3 separate regions of the Homo sapiens genome follow, and regions 1 and 2 are each linked to region 3. The links are contacts of gene promoters, found by promoter capture Hi-C in blood cells and fetal thymus (Javierre and others, 2016). All regions are on one chromosome and are shown on one strand. Each heading gives the region's core, a stretch centred on a gene start or on the middle of the fragment in contact. The rest is flanking DNA. Distances are from core to core; before and after follow the strand shown. Region 1 has its middle 77 kb from the start of LINC02040. Region 2 holds the start of LOC105377127 (a long non-coding RNA gene). Region 3 holds the start of ADAMTS9-AS1 (ADAMTS9 antisense RNA 1).

What was found. The method cuts DNA at HindIII sites, captures the fragments that hold promoters and counts their contacts. A CHiCAGO score of 5 or more calls a contact.
Region 1: a fragment that was not itself captured here is called in contact with the fragment with the promoter of ADAMTS9-AS1 in region 3 in 1 of 17 cell types (endothelial precursors); the score reaches 5.5 in endothelial precursors.
Region 2: a fragment that was not itself captured here is called in contact with the fragment with the promoter of ADAMTS9-AS1 in region 3 in 1 of 17 cell types (endothelial precursors); the score reaches 5.4 in endothelial precursors.

What each region holds. Positions count from the first base shown.
Region 1 is chr3:65,250,007-65,253,330 of GRCh38, forward strand. No RefSeq gene overlaps it. Among named protein-coding and RNA genes, the nearest start is that of LINC02040, 77 kb to the left of the region's middle. The HindIII fragment of the contact is 3,358 bases long and covers 41-3,324 here.
Region 2 is chr3:65,175,920-65,179,313 of GRCh38, forward strand. All of the region lies in intron 1 of LINC02040 (long intergenic non-protein coding RNA 2040), which reads left to right. LOC105377127 (a long non-coding RNA gene) reads right to left here and starts at 3,060. Exons shown (of 4, transcript XR_001740736.1): 1 at 2,812-3,060. The HindIII fragment of the contact is 906 bases long and covers 984-1,889 here.
Region 3 is chr3:64,559,606-64,562,993 of GRCh38, forward strand. ADAMTS9-AS1 (ADAMTS9 antisense RNA 1) reads left to right here and starts at 1,741. Exons shown (of 2, transcript NR_110151.1): 1 at 1,741-2,163. ADAMTS9 (ADAM metallopeptidase with thrombospondin type 1 motif 9) reads right to left here. Exons shown (of 40, transcript NM_182920.2): 30 at 1,973-2,146. The HindIII fragment of the contact is 2,192 bases long and covers 904-3,095 here.

The DNA.
Region 1 (3,324 bases), core at 470-2,969, 690 kb after region 3:
TTTGGTCCTCTTGTTTTGTCTATTGGAATGTCTCCCTCCAAGCTTAGGAGCAACTTGAGGGCAGAAAGTTCTTTATCATTTACATCCTATGGACATAACCAGATGGATGGATGATGTATGAAACAGATAGACAGACAGACAGACAGAAAGACAAGACAAGACTAGATGGATAAGATAAGATAAGATAAGATAAGATATAGTGTGAGGTGGGATAAGGTAAGATAGGTGATGGATAAAATGAATCAAGGGTAGATCAGTATTTCCATCCAGATACATATAGAAGTTTTACATTGAATAAAATTCTTAGGAGTTGTTTAAAATAAGTTTTGCTAAATGCACCAACAGATGTCAAGGTCAAAGCAGGGCTCTTCCTCCCAAGAAGAGTGCTGCACCCTCAGTTTTATCTTCCACACTGTCAGAGAAGTGACAATATAATCTCTCTTAAAAAGGCATTTGAGACTACCTTCTTCCAAAGTCCCATGCATGCACTTTTATTCACCTTTCTGTCATCCACAAAGTGCATCTCAGTTTCTGCCACCATAGCTGCTGTGTTACAGACTAAAATTTCAGGAGAAAGAATAGCTAGAATTTATTAGGCATTTTCTGCCATCTAGGGACTCTACCAATCACTTTTACGTTAAATATCTCTTACAAGCTGCACAATGACCCTAATGTATATTGCCAATGGGAAACTGAGTCTAAAGAGGTTAAGACAGCTACTTCAGATCAAGGAGCTAGGAAAGAGGACGAAACTTGAGACCCAGGACTGTCTCACCCCAGAGGCAATGCTCTGAACCTCTGTGTCACTTCCCAGGGAATATGCTCTGGTCACCCATGGGCACAGCATTCAAAGCCTTTGGGACATTCACTGGGTAGACTTTCAGACTGTCACCTTTTCACTGGATGACTATGGGTCATTTTCATCATGGAAAACTTTGTGACTGAGAAATCTTTGCATCACTTCCTAGGAAGTAAATCACACTTCACCTAGCCCAGTTCCCATCCATACTTCTAGGATCTCACTCTCCCAGACGGTCTTCTATTTCTTGACTTCCATGTCTTCTTTTGTCAACACAAAGGGAAGAAGTCAAAATCAGCATGTGTTTTGTGGTTAGCAAATGGTACATTAATTAAACTAACCAAAGAATTCACCCAGCCCCAAGGTTTTGTTCTCAGTGTTACTTACAATTTCTGGAAGAATGATGCTATCAGGTTAAAATCCACACAGTCTGTGGCTGCCATCTTGTTACCCAGGTGGTTGCTGAGGCCCTGTCTGCAACCACCTGTGATGTGTGCAACCTGTCTGCAACCTGCAATGTAGATTAACTTGGCTAAAACCCAACTACACTGCCCTCCCAATGGCTTCTACCACTTCCCTAGATCTCCTCTATCCCTAGCTCCTGCATTTGTTCCTTTTCCCTCCTTGTCAACCTAGATAAGAAATTCAGCCCCTTGCCAGTTTGTACAAAAGCAGTCTGAGAAAGAGGAAGAATGTATTGAAGGACACGGAACTGAGAGAGCAGTCACCTCAGATCTCCTGCCACATCACCCGTCTTTCTCCTCACAGTCCTCCTCACTCAGTGCCCAGAGAAACCAACTTAGTTCCTCCTGAGTACATACAGTAACTACACCAGACCCTGCTGCATGGATACCAGACAACACTTCCCTCTTGCATCCTAACAGAACCCTGAAATTTTTTAGAGATTCACATGTACAAACAACTGTGTGCTCCAGAGGACATTGCCCCTTACCAGCCTCAGGGACAGGTTTGACTTGTCAAACAGCAATCCCATTTCCCTTTCAGGGATTGCTACAGAAAAAAGCATGTGATCCAAATCCGGCCAATGAAACATAAGGGAAGATTTGCTGGGGGCTTCTGGGAAAAGTTTCCTCATTCATGGGAGACACACAAATAAGAAATTATTTCTTTTCTTCTCTCAGCTGTGGTAGTTGGATAGGGCACCTGGAACTGCTGCAGCCATCTTGCTACCAGAAGAGAAGGAGTGACTTTGAAAATGACAGAGCAGAAAAGGAGAAAAAGCTCAGGAGATAGAGACAATGAATTCACCAAACCCATTTTATTTTTCTCCTGAGCACAGAATAAACTACAGTTAACAGCCACCCTGCCCCCTCCCCTGAAGTCAGGCATTACCAGAAAATTGAGTCCTGACCAATGGATTGTGTATGAAAGTAATGTTTACAGCTTCTAGGCCTGGCCTTTAAAATGGCCTGGTTCATCCTCCCTATCCTTGCTCTTTCCCCATCTGCAGGCTGAATGATGATAGGGTGATTGTGAAGCCATATTGAAGATGACAGAGCTATCACATAGAAGAAGCCAAAGTTCTTGAATGTAGTAGAGGCCTCTATTTCCATTAAATGATTACATGAATGACTAGTGTCTTTTTGTGTGTTAAACCACTGAGATCTCAGGACTAATTTGTTGTTATAGCACATATCATTACTCAACCTGATTAATACAACCACATTCCTTGACTCCTGAATCAACAAACTCTGAAGTCTTTCAACCACTAACCTTCCTCTTATGAGATAATACTTTACTTAATCCTTAAGCTCATTTGGGGCATTGTTTTCCTTTTTTCAGCCTAAAACATCTTAACAGTAATTCACATCTCTACAGTTCTGACCTTCATACTTGTATAACAAACCCATCAGGACGTTCATAGAACCAAGGCCAGGATCCACTCTGTTAAAGAAGATAATCAATGAATGTAAGAATTTTTTTTAACACTCTCCAGGGGTGGTCTAGTTTCTTTTTCTTTTTTTTCAATTATACTTTAAGTTCTGCGTTGCATGTGCAGAACATGCAGTTTTGTTACAAAGGTATACAAGCGCCATGGTGGTTTGCGGCACCCAACAACCCTTCACCTACATTAGGTATTTCTCTTAATGCTATCCCTCCCCTAGCCCCCCACCCCCCGAAAGGGCTGGTGTGTGATGTTCCCCTCCCTGTGGCCATGTGTTCTCATTGTTCAACTCCCACTTATGAGTGAAAACACGCAGTGCTTGGTTTTCTGTTCTTGTGATAGTTGGCTGAGAATGATGGCTTCTAGCTTCATCCATGACCCTGCAAAGGATATGAACCCATCCTTTTTTATGGCTGCATAGTATTCCATGGTGTATATGTGTCACATTTTCTTTATCCAGTCTATCATTGATGTGCATTTGGGTTGGTTCCAAGTCTTTGCTATTGTGAATAGTGCCACAATAAACATACGTGTGCCTGTGTCTTTATAGTGGAATGATTTATAATCCTTTGGGTATACACCCAGTAATGGGATGCTGGGTCAAATGGTATTTCTAGTT
Region 2 (3,394 bases), core at 187-2,686, 620 kb after region 3:
GATTTGAGGTTTATAGTGTACCTGAAAGACTGACAATTTTTACAGTGAAGGCAGATGTTTCTCTTGTTTTACCTGTCATTCCAAAAACACACTTGTGAATAGAACTCTTCACAATAACACCCATTAAAAGTCTTAGGAATATACTTCAAGAATTGTACCACCAAGAGATTTGTGGCTACTAATACCATCTCCGGGAGAATTTTTGCTTTTTTCAGAAGGCTGGCTCAAACGTCAGAACTCTACTGATGGAGATGTTGGGCAAGCAGCCAGCCTGTGGTAGGTACTGGGAAAGAGAACCTTTTGATATCTCGTCTTCTGCGGCCTCTATTTGGTTTGGACTTGCTCTCCATACACCACTGCTGAGTTTCTGAGCACTATACATTGGAGAATAATCATTTTGGTTCCACTGAAAGGCCTCTCTTTTCATCAAACTAGTGTAGCCCTTTTACATCTCTCATTGCTCCAGGGAGCTATGAGCAGTTTTCCTACCAAAGGCACCAGGTGCTGTCTGTGTTTCTGGGACCTTCTCCAGTGCCTGTCTCTGTTGGTCCCCTTGAATGTGCTGCCTCCATTTTGCTACTTGTAATTGAGAACCATGGGCTTCAGGCTGGGTTTCCATCTCCCTGCCTTGCCCCATTAGACTTGATGTTATATTCCGGAGTTTCAGTCCCAACCCAAAACCTACTCTCATATGCCTAAACTACAGGTCAACCTCACCCTATTAAATTCAGCTCAGGGTTGAGCTTTTAACCCACCACTTGCCTGCAAGAGAAAAATAGAAGTTCCTTTCCTTCTATTTACATTATTTCTGAAATTTCTGAAATAGAAGGAAATAATTTACATTATAAATAATTACATTAGATTATTTCTGAAATCTACATTTCAGAAAATTTTAGCTCTTTGGTCAAACTTGGTGCTTTCTACTTGCATTACTGTTATGTGTATGAATGACCTAAGTCCCTGCCCCACTGCCACACATCTCAAGCTTCTTCAAGACAAAACAAAAATCTATATCTGTTTTTCTCCTTATCTCCCTAATACCTGGGTAACGTCTTTTGCAGGTAGTAAGCACTTAACAAATGCCTATTAACTGAATCAATAAGAGAATATATAATCTTATATAGCATGTGGATGCTTTGGAGGACTAACAGAAAAGACAAAATATTTATAAATTTAACATATTAAATCCTGTTAATTTCGAATTTCCTAAGCCAAAAGTGTATTAGTCCGTTCTCACACTGCTATAAAGAACTGCCCGAGACTGAGTAATTTATAAAGAAAAGAAGTTTAACTGACTCACAGTCCCACATGGCTGAGGAAGCCCCAAGAAACACAATCATGATGGAAGGGGAAGCAAGGACCTTCTTCACATGGTGGCAGGAGAGAGAAGAGCCTGTGAGAGCTTCTCAGGAAAAACTACCATTTATAAAACCATCAGATCTCGTGAGAATCTACCCACTATCACGAGAACAGCATGAAAGCAACAGCCCCCATAATCCAATAACTTCCCACCAAGTCTCTTCCTCAACACCTGGAGATTACAAATTCAGGATAAGATTTCAGTGGGGGCACAAAGCCAAACCATATCAAAAAGCTATGTTGATTCCCATAGCATGGTGATTTTCCCTTCTTCCCCCTACCTTTGAGTATGTCTGGCATTGTCTGGAAATATATTTATTTATCAAAACTGGGGTTGGGGTGGGGAAGAACAGAGCTACTGGCATCCAGAGGGTTGAAGCCAGAAATGGTGCTAAACAACTTACAGTGCACAGGACAGAACCCCTGCCTCCAACAAAGAATTATATGTCCCCAAAGTCAATAGTGACACTACTAAGAAACCCCGCCACAAAGTCAAGAAAAAGCCCGCCTTTCCACTGCCCAATAACAAAAGCTTGCTAAAGAAATGAATAACCTAAAAAGATTGCAAGATAGAATTCAAGTTTTTTCAAATGCTTCAAGTCACCTGGTTTGCTTTCATCAAAGAATGGTCTTTATGATTATCATTATTCCACTGTAATCACCCAGAATGCTTTGCTTATGTTCTGTGCTGGACCAATTGGTAAATTGAATTGCTTAAATGCATTCCCTTCTTAGTGGTGCTTTTGTCTGTATTACAGGGCAGGAAGCAAATTTAATTCCGTAGTCATAGGACAAATATTTACCACAAACAATAGCATTTCAACAGTTTGAATCCTTAACTGCCAGAGTGGCTGCTATAAAAGGGATTGTAAGCACAAACACTCAGCTAGTATTTAAAGACCCAGTTGCTCATAAGCCAGACAGCACATGCACAAATTACCATTTGCTTCACTTGACAACTGCTGTTATCTTGACACATCCACTTAAAAATTATTTCTGACAAGAATCTTAACAGCTTTAAATCAGTCTAATTAAAGGTAATACATTTTTGCTAGAAAAGCATTTGAAATTATACAGTATTGCACAGTTCACTTTTCTAATCAAGTTACTGAGTGCATTAGTAAATGACAAAAACATCTCCACTGACATATGGTCTTCTATCGAAGGAAAACATTTCTAATACTTTATGGAAGTTTCTAACAGCAAGGCTGTAGGAGGCAAAAAATGCTTAGAGAGCTTTTCCGTAGTGAAGTAGCACCATGTCCTCGAATATTACTTTATGTAGATGTGGTCGGCAGCTCTGACAGGGCTCCTAGCGACCTCTGCCTCCTGGTACGCAGGCACCTGTGGAATCCCCTTCCTTTGTGCACAGAACCTACTGACTCAGTTTTAACAAACGGAACATAGCACAGGTGATGAGATGTCATTTCCATGATGTGGTTGCAGTCTTACCTGCATCTCGCTGGCTTTCTGTCTCTGTTGCTGGCAGTCTCTCTTACCCTCTTGCTTGCTTGCTGCCATGTTGTGAGTTGCCCGATGGAGATGCCCACGTGGCAAGAAACCAAGGGTGGTTTACAGCTTATGAGGAGCTGAAACTCACTCCAACAACCCACAAGGATTGGAAGCCTGCCAACAAACACATGAGTGTTCTTAGAAGCGAATCCTCCCCAGGCAAGCCTTGAGATGACTATAGCCCTGTGAGAGACCCAAAGCTAGAGGACCCAGCTATACGTGGCACCTGGTTTCCTGATCCACAGAATCTGTGAAATCGTAAATATGTAGTCATTTTAAGTTGCTACATTTTAGGGTAATTGGTTGTACAGCAATAGATAACTAATACAAGATATAACCCTGCTGCCCCAATCTTTATCTCTTTTGTTTTAATTCCTTCCTTACACAAAAGGCTCACCTCTCCTATTCTTTGATGCATCCTTTTCTTATCATTCCACCAGCTCTAAAACTGAACTCTGCATCTCCTTAACCACACACCAGTATTTCCTCCTGACATCTATATTTTTCAAAAGTTTGCTCCTTT
Region 3 (3,388 bases), core at 491-2,990:
TTCCACAGAGTTTAACAGGAATATTTGAGTAAGGTTTAAAAAAGATCCATCTGCACGACACATGCAAAGAAGTAAATTTTAGGCATATTGTGCATGATCAGAGAAGAGGAATTTCCTCAGTGCATATGTGGCAAGGTTTTTCCATTCTTCGGGATGCAAAAGGAATTGTAAACAGAGTGTGCATTTTCGTGATTGGCTCTAGCATTTTCAAAAGCTGGCTAAAGCACAAGCAGTCAGCTTAGATTCATTTCTGAACACTCTCTTACTTTCCGCTCCTCGGAGCAGGGTTGAGTTTAGCGTGACACAAAGAGGGAGATGGAGAGAGCAGGCCATGGTAGGTCTGAAAAAAAGAGAATCAAGAGGTCACACTGAGGGGGAGAGCGAGAGAGATGAGGGAGTCTCCTCTTCCTTCTATATCTGACGTTGCCAATCCCCAAACCATAATAGATAACACTATTACCTCCAGTTTTCTCAGAACAACTCTGAAAAGTTATTTTATCCCCATTCTACAAATGGATAATCCAAGGCTCAGAGAAATCAAGAATCCTTGTTCTAATTCCCTTGGCTAATGTGTGGCAGTGCTAGGATATGAACCAAGTCTGTAGAATTTTATAGTCTCTAGGGTTCCAAATAACTGGTGTGGCTCAAGAGCTGTTAATCTGAAATGTAACTGCTTTAGGCATTCCTCCCTGCCACTGTCTGGTGGGAATAAAAAAGTAAAGAAGGAAAACAGGAAAAAGACTGAGTAGATGGAGAGGGTGAGTTTCCTAAAGAAAAGAAATTACTGCAACCAATGGAAGTAATCCATGAGGAGGCGAGGGAAGAGGAAGACAGGGCTGGGCGGCTGAATCCCAATGGGGTAAAGAATGCAGTTCTAGTATTTCTTAATGGTTTAAGAGAACAAGCTTAGCATGAAGTCTTGCTTCTTCCACTTGCTAGGTGCTAGGTATGTGACACTTGGACAAATGACACAGATTCTGTGAACCTCAGTTTTTTCACCTGCAAAATGGGATGATGATAATAATAATAATGCTCACCTTGTCTGGTGGTTAAAAAGATTAAGGGAAGCAATGAACAAAAAGTACCCAGCACAGTGCCAGGGGTACAGTCTAACTGTTCTCCAAACCATACCCTTTCTTTATGTTCTGAAAAACTCTTCATGGTGGGGAATTTCCTGCCTTATTTTTCATTATCTCTGCACCTCAAGCAGCATGCATTTTGTTTTTTATGCCAACATCAGTGGATATTGTTTTGCTTTCTAATTCTTTCCCCCCCTTTTCTACAGTTTAATCTTCTGTTCTGGAAACAGAGGTTACCTCCTATAAAACCTCCCTGGCCAAACTTTTCCCCATGGACACAATGTTTTCCTTAACCAAACATTAACTTGAAGCCAGGGAAAAAGCAAGGCCTGTCCACTTCTGCACGGACCATCAACGGAGCAGTTTCTTCAGATACCATCCTTTTTTTTTTTTTTTAAATGTTAGAAATCTTTCACTAATTAATCAAGGTTTCACATGAATGCCTATCTTCTACCTGACAGCCAAAGTCATAGAAAGAGGAAAAATACAGAGTAGGTTCTACCTAAAGTCTGCCCTGCGGCTATTTAAACAGATACAGAATGACCAAATCTGGAGACACGTATTTAAAATATTCCTTCTATCTCCCCCTCCTTCTGTGAAAGATATCTGAATGCATTCGGCCCACAGCCTGTTAAAGTTTTTTTTTTTTTTTTTGAGGCGGCCAGACTTGGAACACTCAGGAATACAGACAGACGTAGGAATTGCTTAAAAACAAGAAGTTCTCCCACCCTTGTTGGAGCGAATGCGCGAGTCTGACAGTGAACCTTTTGGGAAAGAGCCAGCATTGTAACCGTGCTCGGTGACTTCTCTGGCTTTATAGGGAACAGATGTGAGGATAGCAAGGGGCGCACACGTGAAATGCCTGGCAGGTACCCCTTTGTGGCTCTACTTACTTCTTGCCATTCCTCTGCCCTCCAAGTGTAGAGGGGACACCGTGGGCCTTGGCAGTCGCGTTCCGACTCCGGTCTGGTGTATGGGTTGCACTCGGTCTCTCTGGCTATTTTGTGTGTTCCGATCTGACAGCCCACATGCCTCTGCTGTACGCCTCGGCCACAGGACACAGAGCACTAAGAAGACAGAGAACGTAAGTGGGAGCTTCGGCTCATTTATTTTTTGGGGGGGCGGGGGGTGTCGAGGGTCACAGAGGAGGGGAATGCACTCCTAATCCAATGACTTTCATAGCTATCACATCGCTTTCTAATTTGCAATGAAAGGGATCCTAGATCATGTCTTAAACCTGGAAACTCACTGCTTATCTTATCCACGCTGGAGAGTGAGGAAGGTGCTCAAGTTTGGAGGAATCCCTCAAGTTAATGTAATTCTTAGAGGATTGAAGAGGTTAATAAAAATCATTATGAATCATTTAGCACAACCTGGAAATAGTGCTGCCATGAGAAATGAAAACTTGAAATGATTTCTATCCTGGAGGATTTGAGACTCATGAAAACTGGAGAGACAGTGTTGTACAAGAAGAATTTCTTGGCAGATTAAAAATATAACCCAAGGAGAAGTAAACCACTGAAGATTTTAGGACTTTATAAGTAGAATTATTTTCTCCAGTCTCTTCCTTTTCTTGCTCCTATTCATGGAGATAAGGCGATATTTTTTTAACCACAGAATTCACTAAAGAATTTGTGTCTATTTACAACCTCAGATGAATATATGAAGAATAAAAGCTGACAGGAAAAACCATTTCCTCGGGCTTAATGTTTTCAGCCCTTGAAAAATATTGTTAATCATGTTGAAACATTTTGCTGACCAACTTGCAAAACACCATATTAAATCTGCAATTAACTTTCCTCTAAATTAATTTTTTAATGGTTTCCTCATTGCTGGGTTTCATAATCTCACTTATGGCCAGGCCAAGAATTATTGTCTTGATTAAGGTTTTGACAGCCAGAAACTAAAGGCAACATTTGGAAAGAATGGTATATTATTACACTTAGCTATTAAAAATTATTTCCAAATTTTTGTGATAGCTCAGCCTCCATTTTTTGGTCTGGTGTTGAGAAAATAAGCTTAACATACATTAAAGCCATATTCCTAAGAGGAAGTCTTCTTAAATAATAGAATCATGACCTTTCAAACTTGAAAAAATTATTTTCCAATTAACCTGTAGCAACATTCAACTTTCTTTGAGACTATTAATGGAAATTTACTATCAAGAATCACACCCAAATGTATTCTGCTGAATGGTAATTTTCTCTCCATTTCAGATTTTAAGAAAACAGGTAACGATATTTAGAAGGTAACTTGAGAAATCATACTGTTTCAGATAAATCTATGCCAGAGAGGAGAACCATATGTTC